2 separate regions of the Homo sapiens genome follow, and region 2 is linked to region 1. The links are contacts of gene promoters, found by promoter capture Hi-C in blood cells and fetal thymus (Javierre and others, 2016). All regions are on one chromosome and are shown on one strand. The core of a region is centred on a gene start or on the middle of the fragment in contact, and the rest is flanking DNA. Distances in the headings are between cores, read along the strand shown. Region 1 holds the start of ZNF366 (zinc finger protein 366). Region 2 overlaps MRPS27 (mitochondrial ribosomal protein S27).

What was found. The method cuts DNA at HindIII sites, captures the fragments that hold promoters and counts their contacts. A CHiCAGO score of 5 or more calls a contact.
Region 2: a fragment that was not itself captured here is called in contact with the fragment with the promoter of ZNF366 in region 1 in 1 of 17 cell types (monocytes); the score reaches 5.7 in monocytes.

What each region holds. Positions count from the first base shown.
Region 1 is chr5:72,502,959-72,509,964 of GRCh38, reverse strand. It overlaps ZNF366 (zinc finger protein 366), which reads left to right and starts at 2,555. Exons shown (of 5, transcript NM_152625.3): 1 at 2,555-2,714. The HindIII fragment of the contact is 5,585 bases long and covers 1,631-7,006 here.
Region 2 is chr5:72,300,975-72,307,816 of GRCh38, reverse strand. The region is part of intron 2 of MRPS27 (mitochondrial ribosomal protein S27); the gene reads left to right. Among named protein-coding and RNA genes, the nearest start is that of MRPS27, 16 kb to the left of the region's middle. RefSeq lists enhancers at 5,741-5,970, 5,530-6,485. The HindIII fragment of the contact is 2,782 bases long and covers 1-2,641 here.

The DNA of each region.
Region 1 (7,006 bases), core at 1,306-3,805:
CATATGCCATTCCTGCTCATGCGTCTCAGTTGGATCCTTCACTTTTAGTCAGGATCCAGATAGGCCAGGACAGAGTTAGAGCTCCAGTGGACTGATCAGAAATCTGTCCTGCCAAACCTAATGGGAGGGTTAGGAATTTCTGCTCCTGACACCCAGTGGGTGGTTTCACAAGTTTTAGAGGGTGACTGTTCAGGTGACTGGCAGCACAAGGAAAGAGGGAAAAGCCTTTTCTGTGAATTTCACAGGCAGGGTTGCAACGCGGTGTGAGCATGGAGCAGCTTGGCACAAGGCAGCCTTGAGAGTCCCCTGGCTGGCTGCGGGGATGATGTCAGATCCCGACTGGATGCTGCCCCATTCAGTCAAAGCCGTGCAGCCTGAAATGGCACATGTCCCCATCCAGGCTGTCTGGGCGGGTCAGCTGGCCTGGAGACAACAACACAGCCTCAACGTGACAGTCCCCACATTCTGCAGACTTAAAAGGGAAATCCTTTGGATTCTGCCTGGACTCCTGGGGCTCAGCCCTGGCCTTGCCTTGAGGGTGCAAAGAGGAGTAAAAATATGGGAAGGCCTGTGTGCAGCTGCAATGGATTCTTCAAGTGATCAGAGGCGGTTTCCTGCCTGTGAGGAGTTGGTACCATGAGCGTCTTGTTCCTTGGGTCCCTCCTTTCCTCTGCTGCTGATGCCCCGCACACCTTGCCCCCTCCCTATTGCTTCTCCTCACCCCACCTCACTCCCAAGGACGTCTGCTTTTTTATTGTGAATTTCAGCTGCCTGCTTGTTTCACCTCCGGTTACTCAAAGGTTTGCCCCAGTGTTTCTCCCCCTTTAAAAGACTCCATTCCTAGGCCTTCCTGCTCCATTCCCTCATGCCCTTCCCTGGCTTTCTCAGATTTTCATTTTCATTTCCCTTCCCATTTCTACAAAGGCAGGATGTAGAGGAAGGCCAGCAGAGGGCAAAGAGCCCGAGAGCCGGGATCAGGAGACAGGAACGTGTTGGCGTGTGGCTCTAAGCGAACCAAAGAGACTGTCTCTGGTCATCCGTGTTCCCCACTGTTGGTGAGGCTGGGTCACCCAGGCCAGAACTCAGTGCCATGGGTTGTGCCAGTGTTGGTGCTGTGGCGGATGCAAGGAATGGGACTCTGCTCTGGCTTGTGCACACCTACCGAGTAACAAAATCTTCATGTCTCTCTCTGATACATGCACACATATTCAGATAACTAGATAGACAGGGAGATAGATAGATATATGGATAGATTAGATAGATAGATGATAGATAGATAGATAGATAGATAGATGATAGATAGACAGATAGATGATAGAAAAATATCTGTCAGAATAAAAACATAATCCTATAGGCCAATAAGGACTCAATCAAAATCTTACAGGGTCACTGAATCAGAATCATTCTTCCCCTGAACTCACTTTCATGACTCTTTGCAATCAGGTGTATCTGTCCACCCCATTTTTTTCACAGTTGGGTGAAATGAGGAAGTAGTGTAAGGCTGGTTTTTCTTTTGCTGCCACAAAGGTCTACATAACTGCTGGTTCCTGTTCACAGTGAAAATGGTCCTAACCAGATGAATAAGGGACACAAGAGACATAACACAAATCAGAGAAGTTAAAACCAAGCTTATTCCTAAGTGCAACTAGCCTAAGCAAGCTCATGCCTGCCTGCTGAAGCCCCAAGTCTTCTACCTTGATAAAGGTTACTCCCTCCATTTTAACTGCTCCTGCCTCCCCTATCTTTTTTCGAACACCATGGCTGATTTATCTAAACCCTATGCTGCTTCACAGTATTTTGAAAACAAATTAGAAATCTCCTTCCAGTTTTCCAGAGGTGATTAAATCCAAGACGCCTTAGGAATGTAGAGGATAGAATAATATAAACAACAGATCTGAGATAACCATGGCCGGCAGCAGTTGTGGTTAGTTGCTTCTTTTCCTTTTTCATCCATCAGTGATGGAAGCTGGATTGGGTCCACTGTATAAAGTTCGGTGGGCATAAATCTGCTATTTGATCCTGGAAAAACTCTAAGGATCTAGAGTCAGCGAGGAATTGCAGCAATGCTGGTGTTTCAAAGGGCCTAAGAAAAGCCAGGAGTCCTGGCTGCCCAGCCCCGACACTGTCTTACAGGCTGCAGGTTTACCTTGGTTAGCACAACAGGCCAAGCTCTCCCTTGCTCTAAGTCGACATGACATGATTTGTTCCCTTTCGGCTGTGTCAGTTCTGCAAACCAGATACCAGAGGCTGCAGGCTCAGGAGAGCCTGCCTGTCTGGAACACCGTTTGTTTGGACAGGACAGGCCACTAAGGCGTTTCATCTCTTTAAAGCTCCCAGGGCAGAGAACATATTTGAGGAATTCCTTTTTTCAAAGATTTTTTTTTTTTGCCCCTTCCAACATTTTGTTTAAGAGAAAATGAGATGTCTATCTTCTGTTTCCTTATTTTTTTTCAGGAAAGCAAAGGGTTGTTGACTTCCTCCCTCTCCCCTCCCTTCCTTCCTTCTTCCCGAAGGTACTCATCTGAGAAAAAGAGAACGAAGTATTGTTCCTGTTCTCTTTCTTAAGTCATTCGAAACACTGTCCCTGCGAGTTCTTTAAGTTCCCTGCAATCTGTACACAAGAGAAAGAGGGAGAGAGAGAGGGAGAGAGACAGAGAGAGCAGGGATCAGGTAAAGGAGTGGGGCTGCTGCAGCCATTCAGACCTCAGGAGCTGGTAAGTTACCCATGCAATCATTTCTGCTTCCTTTTCAAGGTTCCTGGGTGGATACTGCTGTGGGCATCTTCAACAGAAAATACCTTACTGGGAGTAGTCCTTAACCAAAGGGTATAAGTGATAGATGGCCCAGAATTTCAGCTAATACTTTTTTTTGGTAAGAGAATACTGATGCTTTGCAGAACTAAGGCTGGCAAAACTAGAAATAGAATTACATTGGGACTAAAGAGGACACTGCGTTAAATCTGAATTTTGGCACAGATCATGTGGCTGGGAGAACCAGGAGCCACTGGCGTGTGAGATGTGTCCCACTGGAGAATTTGCTCTTCCTCAGTACTGTGTCCTGGGAGCCTTATCAGGGTGTCTGTTAAGGACTGTGGTTTGCTCTGGGGTTTTTGTTAATACGTTACCTGGATTGAGGTGCCCTTCTCCTGTTCTTTTCTTTCCATTCAGCATCCCCCTAAAGGAGGATTGTTAATTGTTATATGATGGTTATTCTGCATCACTGAAGTAGAAGGGAAAGAGAGAAGGGAATGTCACTTGGAAATAGTTCTGCATGTGGGGAGCTTATGTGTTCAGGTTCCCCATGCGGGTTGAGTGTAAATTTATTATTCACTGTCAGTGGAAGATGTCATCTGCCACATGATAGAAGGCAAAGGTTTTGGGGCATATAGCTTTAGTTTTGGAAAACAATATGCAGCTAGAATGGGAGGATTAAGATGGATCATTTATGTCAGTAGGAGGGAAAAACTAAGTTACAGACGCAATTGAAAAGCATTCACCCAGTGCCTGGTTTTCCAAGCACCAAATAGGGCGTAGCAAGCTAGTCAAGCTAACATACACAACTAGTTTTTAAAAGTCTAACTTGCTTCAATTAGATTAGTCATAAAGGATAATGTTACCAGCACCTATCATCGCAAGCCATGAGGGAGCCGAAATCATGTTGTCAAAAATAGGTCAGCAAGGTCACTCCGAGAGACTCGTTATGTTTCCCAATATTAATACTTTAATTCAGAGAGATGCCGAATGGGTAAAAGCCAATGGCCAAGCATACTTTTTAAAAATATTCACTGCTATGAAATTTACTGATTGAAATCACCTGGGATGTGAAGAATAAGATAAAAATAGCTGGACTCTCATTTTAAAAATTAATTTGGCTAGACTATGCTTTAACCACATTCAAGTAATTAATCTTTATTCAAAATTGAACCATCATCTTACTAAGGATGAGAAAACATGACAGAACTAGACTGTGATGTAGCTTTTGTTCCATTAGTCAGACCTCTTTTTTCTTCTCCTTTTTTCAAGGATTTTCTTTAGGAGCATCATAAAACGAGCAATGTAAAGAGACGTGAATAGCGTTTGCCAGCTTGCGGATGCAAAATTATTCTAATAACAATTGAAAGTGTTTTACTGCTACCCTACCACCTCCCCTAACTACTCCATTTCCATAGATCTTCAGATCAAGAGGTAGCTGGAATAGATTGTCGAGGGCATTATTGCATCATTTATCAGCAACTGTGGCCCCAGAAGAAAACGCAGGTCTGCGATCTTGACTTGCTCCTTTCAGTTTCATTTCTCTTGATAATGTATTGAATTTTGTGCTCAACTAAAACAACATCACAGAACACATTCTAGTTTTGTTTACTGAGTAAAAGCATCAGATGCAACACAATAGGAAACAAATGACAGCAGAGTCATTTGTTAAAGACAAGGAAGGCAATTAAATTAAAGACAAGGAAAGCACAAGGTGGGTAGGCCAGTGGCTCAGAAAACAGCCCCACTGCTAGCATGACTATGGCTTGAGATTAAGAAGCTGAGGATATGCAGTTTTCTTTTAAAGAAAAAAGTGTATTCAATATTTCCATTTAAGTTGTTAAGTCATTGCTGTGAAAATATTTCTTGGATACTGGGGGAAATGAATTTTAGCTACCCGAAGAATAAAAGCCATCGACTAGTTTCATCGAAGTCACTACCACTCAATCTATCTTTACTCACTCACCGCCAAAGAGTGAGTTGGCATTTGTGGAAACTTCCAGTGTGTGATTATTTGGGGGTCATCAGAGGCTCTTTTGTGATATCATTGGGGGAATTCCAGTTTGAAGTGATCCAGAATTTGAGACACACAGTATTTTATTCGTTAATTTCTGCCAAAACTGTACACATAACTAAATTACAATTTCTTATACACATTTTAAATTATGTTAGGATGTGTGTCCTGTAGATCTGTGTGCTGGGATGTGAGTCAAATTAGAGTGAGTAGAGCACAGTCTCTGTTGTTGTACTACTTTTGGTTTGAATTTCAGCTTCGTTGCCTACTGTTTATGGGCCTCGGGGCAGGTACTTAACTGCTCTAAATCTCAGTGTCCCCAAATGTAAAATTGCGTCAACATAATGGAGTTGTGAGAATTAAATACAACTATCGGCATAAAACACTTAACATAATGTTTGGCAAGTAGTAGGAGTCAATCAGTGTCAGTTATATATTTTTTAAGGGTCATATATTAACACTGAAGAGTACTGTATTTTGTTAATACAGAGAACAGAATGAGTCTCCTATAATTTGTGTCATTATTCTTGCTTAATACTATACCAAGGATCTATCAGAGCAGATATTATTCCTCACAGCTTTAGAGTTGGGCACACACTGAGTGAAGATATTCTAAATTCTAAATTCTTATAAAATAAAAGAGTGTAGAGTTTAATGTATTGATATTCATCTTCACGAATGGCAGAAATGGCAGATTTAGCTTCACTGAATGCAGCTGTATTCAACACAGCTCAATGCAGGGGAAAGTTTGTCTCGGGATAAAAGTTTTCAACTTAGATGAACGTGCAAAGAGAGTTCAGTTATATTGTGGACATTTTATTCTCCCTTTCACCCACTTCCCCAACTGCTTGAGCTCTGTGTTATTGGTGACCTTTTCCCTGGTTGTGGAGGGCTGGAGACACTTTTTTTGGAGACCATCGTGGTTGTACCATGACTCAGCTAAAGAGGAAAGGACTTAAAGTGACACATTCTCCTCCTGCCCAGGGCTGAGCACACTTGGGGTTCTCTCTCCTCAAACATTGTAACAGTGAGCCACTCACCTTCACACAGAGAAACAGAACACTATATATCACCATGGGTGTGCGTGTGTGTGTGCATGCACGCGTGTGTGCGCGCGCATGTGTGTGTGCGTGCGTGTGTGCGTGCGTGTGTGCATGTGTGTGTGTGGTGCCTGATTGATCCAACTGCTATTTTTCTTTCACTCTAAACTTTAAAACCTGTATGACCGTTAGTTTGTCAAGTAATAATGATACTTTTACTTAGGTCTTAGTTAAATTTCTCTCCACTTTCCAAAAGCAAAACACACAACAGCAAGAATAACAAAAAATCTACCACCAATAACCAAAGCCATTCAGGTCCTTTTGTTAGACTGAGAGCTTGTGAAACAACAGAGACATGTTTGGACACTTAACCTTAGGGACAAATCGAAGCTGAGTTGTTCTGCACTAACGTGCAAAAGGTGCCCTCTCATGTGGCTTGGTGGAGTAGAAAAAGACCAGATTGGGAGTCAGAACACTGCTGTTCTCATCCAATCTCTGCATTTCCTATATGCATGACTTGACAGGTTGCTTTACTTGCTTGGATCTCAATTTTCTCATCTGTGAAATGACAAAATGGGATAAATAAGTAATTTTCGAGGTGTGCGTGTGTGTGTGTGTGTGTGTGTGTGTATTAGAATTCACCTACGGGCTTGTTTATAGTCTCCTCCTGCCCTGTCCACTTCATGGGATGATCTGTGAGACCCTTTTGCTGACATGCTGTGATTCTCCAAAACAGATGGTCAGTGTCTTGCTCCGTCTTCTTCTGGATGGCATTAACATTAACTGTAAATGCTCGTTTTAAGAGCCATGCTTTTAAATGGAATTCCTATTCAGCACTGGATGTTCTCTCTAGAAGATAGTTCTGAGTATATCAAATGTTATTTTAGAAGCTATTAGTATTATGGAATAAGGAATGTCCTAGCCGGTTGAGCAATCTGATGATAATGATCAGTGTTCTAGAACCATATGTAAATCACAAGATCAATTACTTAGATCTGTAAACATTATAAATCAATATAAATAGCACTTTTTTTTTGAGACAGAGTCAGGCTCTGTCACCCAGGCTAGAGTACAGTGGCACAATCTTGGCTCACTGCAACCTCCGCCTCCCAGGTTCAAGTGATTCTCCTGTCTCAGCCTCCCGAGTAGCTGCGATCACAGCTGCCCGCCACCACGCCTGGCTAATTTTTTGTATTTTTAGT
Region 2 (6,842 bases), core at 1-2,500, 200 kb after region 1:
TGATGAATTACCACAAAGCGAGTAAACCTGTGTAGGAAGCAAGAGCATTCCTACCGCTCCAGAAGCCCTTATTGCGGCCCCCACTTAGTCTCTCCAAAGGTAACCGGTATCCTGACTTCTAACGCCACAGATTTTTTTTTTTTAGTGTTTTAACATTTGAAGGTGTAGACACCTTGGTATAAGGAGCCCCCTTTACCCATCACCTGGCTTCAACAATTATCAGCTCTTAGTCTTTATTTTATCTTTATTACTGTTTCCCCATCCCGATGCTTTGGATAATTTTGAAGGAGATCCCAGGCAGTAAGTCATTTCATCCGTAAATATTTTGATACAGATCTCCAAAAGACAAGGGTGCTTTTCAATACCATTATCACACCTAAAATATTAATAGGGTTGTAAATATCACGAAATATCCAGTTAGTGTTCAGATATCCCTGATACTCTCTTTCTTATTTTATTTTATTTTCTTAGAGCCTTGCTCTTGTCGCCCAGGTTGGAGTGCAATGGCACGATCTCAGCTCGCTTAAACCTCCTCCTCCCAGGTTCAAGCGATTCTCCTGCCTCAGCCTCCCGAGAAGCTGGGATTACAGGCGCCCGCCACCATGCCCGGCTAATTTTTGTATTTTTAGCAGAGATGGGGTCTTGCCTTTTTGGTCATGCTGGTCTCGAACTCGTGACCTCGTGATCCGCCCACCTCGGCCTCCCCAAGTGCTGGGATTACAGGCGTGAGCCACCGCTCCTGGCTCAGGTATCCCTGATACTCTCAAATTTTTTTTTTTATGATTTGGTTGAATCAGGATTCAAATAAAGCCTCGTATAATACAATTGGTTGCTATGTGCCCCCGTTAACTCTTTCTGAATCTTTTTAATAGAAACATACAGAAGTAGAGAGAGTAGAATAAACCCCTGTGTACTGTCACCCAGCTCCAGCAATTATCAATTCCCTACCAGTGTTGTTTCATCAACTCCCCACCTGTTCACCAGATTACTTTTTAACAAACTTAATTATCGGGGTTTTTTTATATGTACTTTGATATGTACCTCTAAAAGATAAGGATTTTTAAAAACGTAATTAATCATACTATTCTAAAAAACTAGTACTTCTGTAATATTAAATATTCCATTAATGTTCACATTTTCCCAAATGTCTTATAAATTTCTTTTTAATTTAGTTTGTTGAAATGTGATCTAGATAAGGTCCATACCTTGCAATGTGTTGAGTTGTCTCAACTATCTTAGTTTGTAAGTTTTTTGCAATTTATTTATTGAACAAAACAGGTCTTTTTTGGAGTTTCCCACATTCTAGATTTGCTGATTTCATCCTTATTGTGGTGTTTAGCGTGCTCCTCTGCCTTCCATATGTCTTGTGAAACTGGTAGTTGGAGAAAGGGGCTTGATCAGATTCAGGACTTTTTATTTTGTCTTTTGGTATAAATACTTCATAGTAAGTGTTTACTTGTGTCAGTAAGCACACAGCATTTGATTGCCCCTCTGCGAAGTTAAAGGCCATTCATGATCTTTACTTAGATTTGTTATTTCATTTGAAGCTGCATACTATTGCTGTTTAAATTTTATCATTTCTTTTCATTTATTATCTAGGAAATTTTTATGACAGAACTTCCATTCATCAACAGTTTACTTACCCTGAAATAGTTTGTATATGAGTTAGCTTTCAAAATAACTTGCAAAAATGATGAATGAGGACTTCTTAAAATGTCATTAAGAACTCATAGATTTAAATAATTGAGACATTTTAATCCATTGCTGTTGATACTTTTATTGATAGGGCCATAGTTCAACTGTGCTCTGTAGAGCCCTGGGCTTTCCTACTTCAATCAGATTTCAACTTTTGATTGTTTCTGTACTGGGCTTCCCTTTGGCTAAAATAAACACTGAGTTAAAGCATTGTCTCTGGAATTCCTCCACTAACTTGCTGATTTGTTGGGGAGGTACAGGGTAAAAGTTATCAACATTTACTAGTTAACAGAATAGGATCCACTGTGAACAGGACTCAGGAGAAAACCACTGGGGAACTGGGTAGGGTGTTGGTAGGAGGGCAGGCCTCATGGGGAAGCTCCTTGAGTTCCATGAGAGGAAGTTTTCTTGAGTCTTTCTGACAAGGAGCGAGCACTCAGGTGACTTGAGCTGAATTCAGGATTCATGAGCCCTACTGGATTAAATATTTTATTTGTGATTTTTCACATCACAAAGTATAGGACACATTTTGGTTTGGGTTACTGTTTTGCTTGTTTGTGTTGGTTTCTCTTGGTTTGTTGGTTTGTTTTCTGTTGGTTTGTTTTTGGAGAACCTCCTTTTTGAATCCAAAGAGTATTTCCTTGACACATTTGCATTCAGGTCTGTCTCTTACAGACACTTCTTCCATTTTAGCTGAGATTTAGTTTTGCTGTGTCATTTCAGCTGTAGAGGCCTTTGGCTTTTTGCATGAATATTTCAGATCCTGCTCTTGAGGCCTGATGGAGATTTTCTGAAGTCTGCTTTCTTAACTTTTGTCAGTTCTGTATTTGCATCTCTGTGGCATCTATTCATTTTCCAGTTTCCATATTTGCCAAGTTCTAGAGATGGGTCTGACTTGTGCACATCACCGTTCTTTAGTCTCATTAATATATATGTACACAAAGCTTGATTTCATGTTTTTCCTTTATTGGATTTATTTATGTTAAAGCTTCTGGTGACAGACAAATAGAAGGAAGTCTAAAAATCTATGTCCAAATTGGTTGCTAGGCTAGTTTTCCATACTTCCTTCTGTATATTCAATGCATGATATATGTCATGTGTCCTCGTTTTTCTTTTAAAATGTGGGAAACAAAAACAGTTTCAGCCTGTATTTTTCAAGATCAGTTCTTCTAGGAAGGACAATAATAATCTGTACCTGTTTCTTTATTATATAAATTAGGTAAGGTATGCAGATGACCATAAGCCCAGAAAGAGTTTAGTGTTGCCTGAAAGGTTAACAGTAATGTGCAGTTATGTAGAAAAGAAAAACTGAAACCATTTCTCACCTGAAGCTAGAAGGATTCAATAAAGGATTCATATTTTTCTTCAGTGACCTTCATTATCACAACTTTGCCCCAGAGACCACACTCTTTTTTAAGAGGCTTGTTTTTCAACACATCTGTACTACAGATTTTGTGGTTATGTACTGTGAAGCTGTGTTACTTTGGTGTGCACCAGGTTAAAATTATCTTGGCAAAATGAATTTTTGGTCATTATGTAGTGACCCACATAATCTATAAAACTGCTTTTTGCCTGTAATCTATTGTGTCTGATATTAATACAACTGTACCAGCTTTATTTTGGCTTCCTAGTGTGTTTTTAATAATTTTCAACTCTTCTGTGTTTATATGATTTATATAGCTAGCTTTTATATTTTTAACCAATCTGACAATCATTATCTTTTAACTAGAAAATTTCGTCTATTTACATTATCATTTCATGATTACCAATATAATTGGATTTATTTCTGTCACATTTTGTGATTGGTTTCATCTTTCTTTTTTTTCTTTATTTTTTATTTTTGGATTGATTTTTACTTTTGGATTGTTTTTGTTTTTTACGTTTTTTTCCCCTCCACTGGTCTGGAGATTATATCCTCTACTTTTTTAGAGATTGTTGCCCTTTAACTTCTAAAATGCATATCTAGCTTAAATTGTAATGCTCATCACACTCTACTATCCTTTAGGACACCTTAGGTCCACACACACACATCTAACCATATGCTCTTGTCTAATAATAAAGTTTTATCCTTTAAAACACATATAACATTATTTTAAACAGTCAGTTCCCCCCCAATTTAACCAATTTTATTGAGTTCTAAAAATTTCCTTTAGTATTTGTTGCTAATACATTTTCTGTTTTTGTTTGTCCAAAAATGTCTTCATTTCGCCCTTATCTTTTTTTTTTTTTTTTTTTTTTTGAGATGAGGTCTTGCTGTGTTGCCCACACTGGCCTCCAACTCCTGGGCTTAAGTGATCCTCCCACCTCAGCCTCCTGAGTAGCTGGGTCTACAAGCACATGCCAGCATACCCATATTTTGCCCTTATTTTTTAAAGATAATCTTGCTAGATATGCAATTTTAGGTTGATAGTTTATACTTGCAACATTTTGAACATTTTATTCTATTTTCTGGATTTTATCATTCCTATTGAGAAAACACCTGTTAGTATAGTTGTTTCTTTCTTTGTAATTTCTCTTTTCTTTCTGGCCACTTTTGAGATCCTCTCATTCATCGTTTTTGAAATAATAATTTTACTTTTTTGACTTGAGATTGTATACATATCCTGAATCTAGAAACCTATATTTTTTATCAATTCTAAAAAATTCTCATCATTGTCTCATCATACATTCTTATTCATATTTCTATATCTTTGCTCTTTTACAGTTCTCATTTTTATCTTTGCAGCATTCTGTGTAATTATCTGCCTTTCAGTTCACTCTCACTTCACCTGTGTCTAACCTGCTTTTTAACTTATTCATTGTTTACTTTTTACAGCTTTGATGAGGTATTCTTCACATAAAATAAACTATGTATATTTAAATGTACAATTTGATCAGTTTTGACCAATGTACAGGTGTATATGTCCATAAAGTCATCTCCATGATCAAGATAATGAGCATATGTGTCACCTGCCAAAGTTTTCTCCTATTCTTTAACCCTTTTCTCCTTCCGCTTCTGGCCCTATACCCCAAATTCCCAGGCAACCATGGATATGCTTTTTTGTTTCTATAGAATAGTTCACAATTTTTAGAATTTTATATAGTGAAGTCAACTCTTCAAACAAAATTCTCAGCTTGGTATATTTTGGATCACAAAAGAAGAGTGGATTAAATCCCCAAAGAGGCATGAGGGCTGACTTGTAGTTTATAATCTTCAGGGGACAAGTGTCCCGGTTGTTTACTTTTTAGGGTGCATTATTGTAGTGATAAGTTTTACCTTTTCACTTCAGGTGTAGTTCCCTTAGGTGGTCCTGGCTTTACCTGAGGATCTCTGAACAAGCTTCTCATCTTACAAGTATTGGTTTTATCCTCTGTCCCCATAAGTCACTGAAACTAAAGCTCTCCATCACTGTAGATCATCACATGCTCTCAAAAGGACTGCTCCCCTCAAAGGGACTGCTCCTCTAAACACTCCAAGTTCATGTTTCCATCTTGCCTTTGGCCTCTGACAGTTACATCTACCTTCTTGAAAGCTCAGTCATATATTTGGGGGAAAATTGATATTTTGTTTTATTTTTATAGTAGGAGGAATTTTTTAAAGATATTTAATTCATTTTATTCCAGCAATGGAATTCCTATTCAGTATCTTCTTTGAGCTTAGGAGCAACATCTAAGACTTCTTTTGTGTTCCCTCCCATGGTTGCTCCCAAACATAACTGACGTGCTTGATTGGCTACAATCTTCTGGGGCTATTGTTTAAGTCTCTCGTGCTACCTCAAACCCAGGGAATTAGAGTCTCCCTCTGGGTGAAAAGAATCCTAGGAATCTGAAGTTTTAAAGCCCCTCAGGCAATCTGAATCCTCACCCAGGCTTGTGGGCCATTGCACTCTTACTGGGAATAGTGCAGGGTTCTCAATACAATCTTGTATATTCTGAGATCGTTAATAGTATTGCTTTCTTCAAATGGGAAGGGCATTTTTAGTATACATTTTATTTTCTGGACATACTTCCACATTGTCTGTCTAGCTTCAAGTTTTGTTAAATGAAGAATTCAAATTTCAGATCCATTTTCCCATATAGTCTGTTGTCCACAACCATCTGCCACAGTATGTATTCCTGAGGAGCTGAATAGCAAGCAAAAAAGTATCTTCTTTGGCACATCTCTTTGAACAAAACCTGGGCATCTGCTGGCCCCTCACTGAAACATGAGGTGGGATTTTGACTGTGGAAGCCCACAGTCCAGAAGCCTGTGGCGCTGGCCCTCTGCACGCCGCAGCTGTCCCAGCTTTCCTGGCCGTCCCTGCTCTGTGCAGTTTTCTGCCTCATTCATCACGGCAGTGCTATACTGTGAGGTGATTGGCCACATGATATATTTAGCAGCAAACCTTTCTCTGACTTGGAAAATGCAAATGTTATTCATTAGATGCTGGCTTTGCAGCTGTTACCTTTTCTGAGGCTCCAGCCAATTTCACTTGACTAAAGATGCCTTGGTGCGAAGGATTCACATGCAATCTTGAGTTACCACACTACAGAGGTGATCAGTGAAGCCACCTTATTCCAGAGTTTGGTTATACATTGTGCATGATGTGAAACCCACAAAGAAATGATGGGTTTTTCATTTTAATTAGGCCATAGATCCTGATCTTGCTATTTTAAGTTAAATTGTAAATTTCAGGTAGAGGGAGGTAATTTCTCATATTGCCTCTCATCTAAACACAGAAGCCTTCATTATGAAATGATCAAAAGATTTGCTATTATGAGAGAGACATTTAACATCTGTAAGCAAGTAGATTTAATGCTATTAAGTTGCCTTAGTGTGAAGGGGGTTTAAGGACTTTTTTGTTTTTATTTTGCTTTAATCACTTGGCTTCAATCCCTTTAAGATAGTCATAAGAAAAGCTAATTGCTTTCATATCGTATCAAGTTCTAAAGTTCTAAAGTTGTTTTCCCCCAGTAGGTACTGAGTCATTGAGATCAATCCCTCAGGGAAAAAAGAGAGGAAAAAATGGTTAAATGCACAACAATAGGTTTTCAACAAATACTTATTACTTGATCATTTCTGGTGTGTCCTTATTACTTGATACCAATTTCTTCCACCAGGGAGTAAACAAACCTTGGAAACCCAATTGCTTTTTTCTTTCTTCCTTTTCTTCCTTTGATTCATTTCT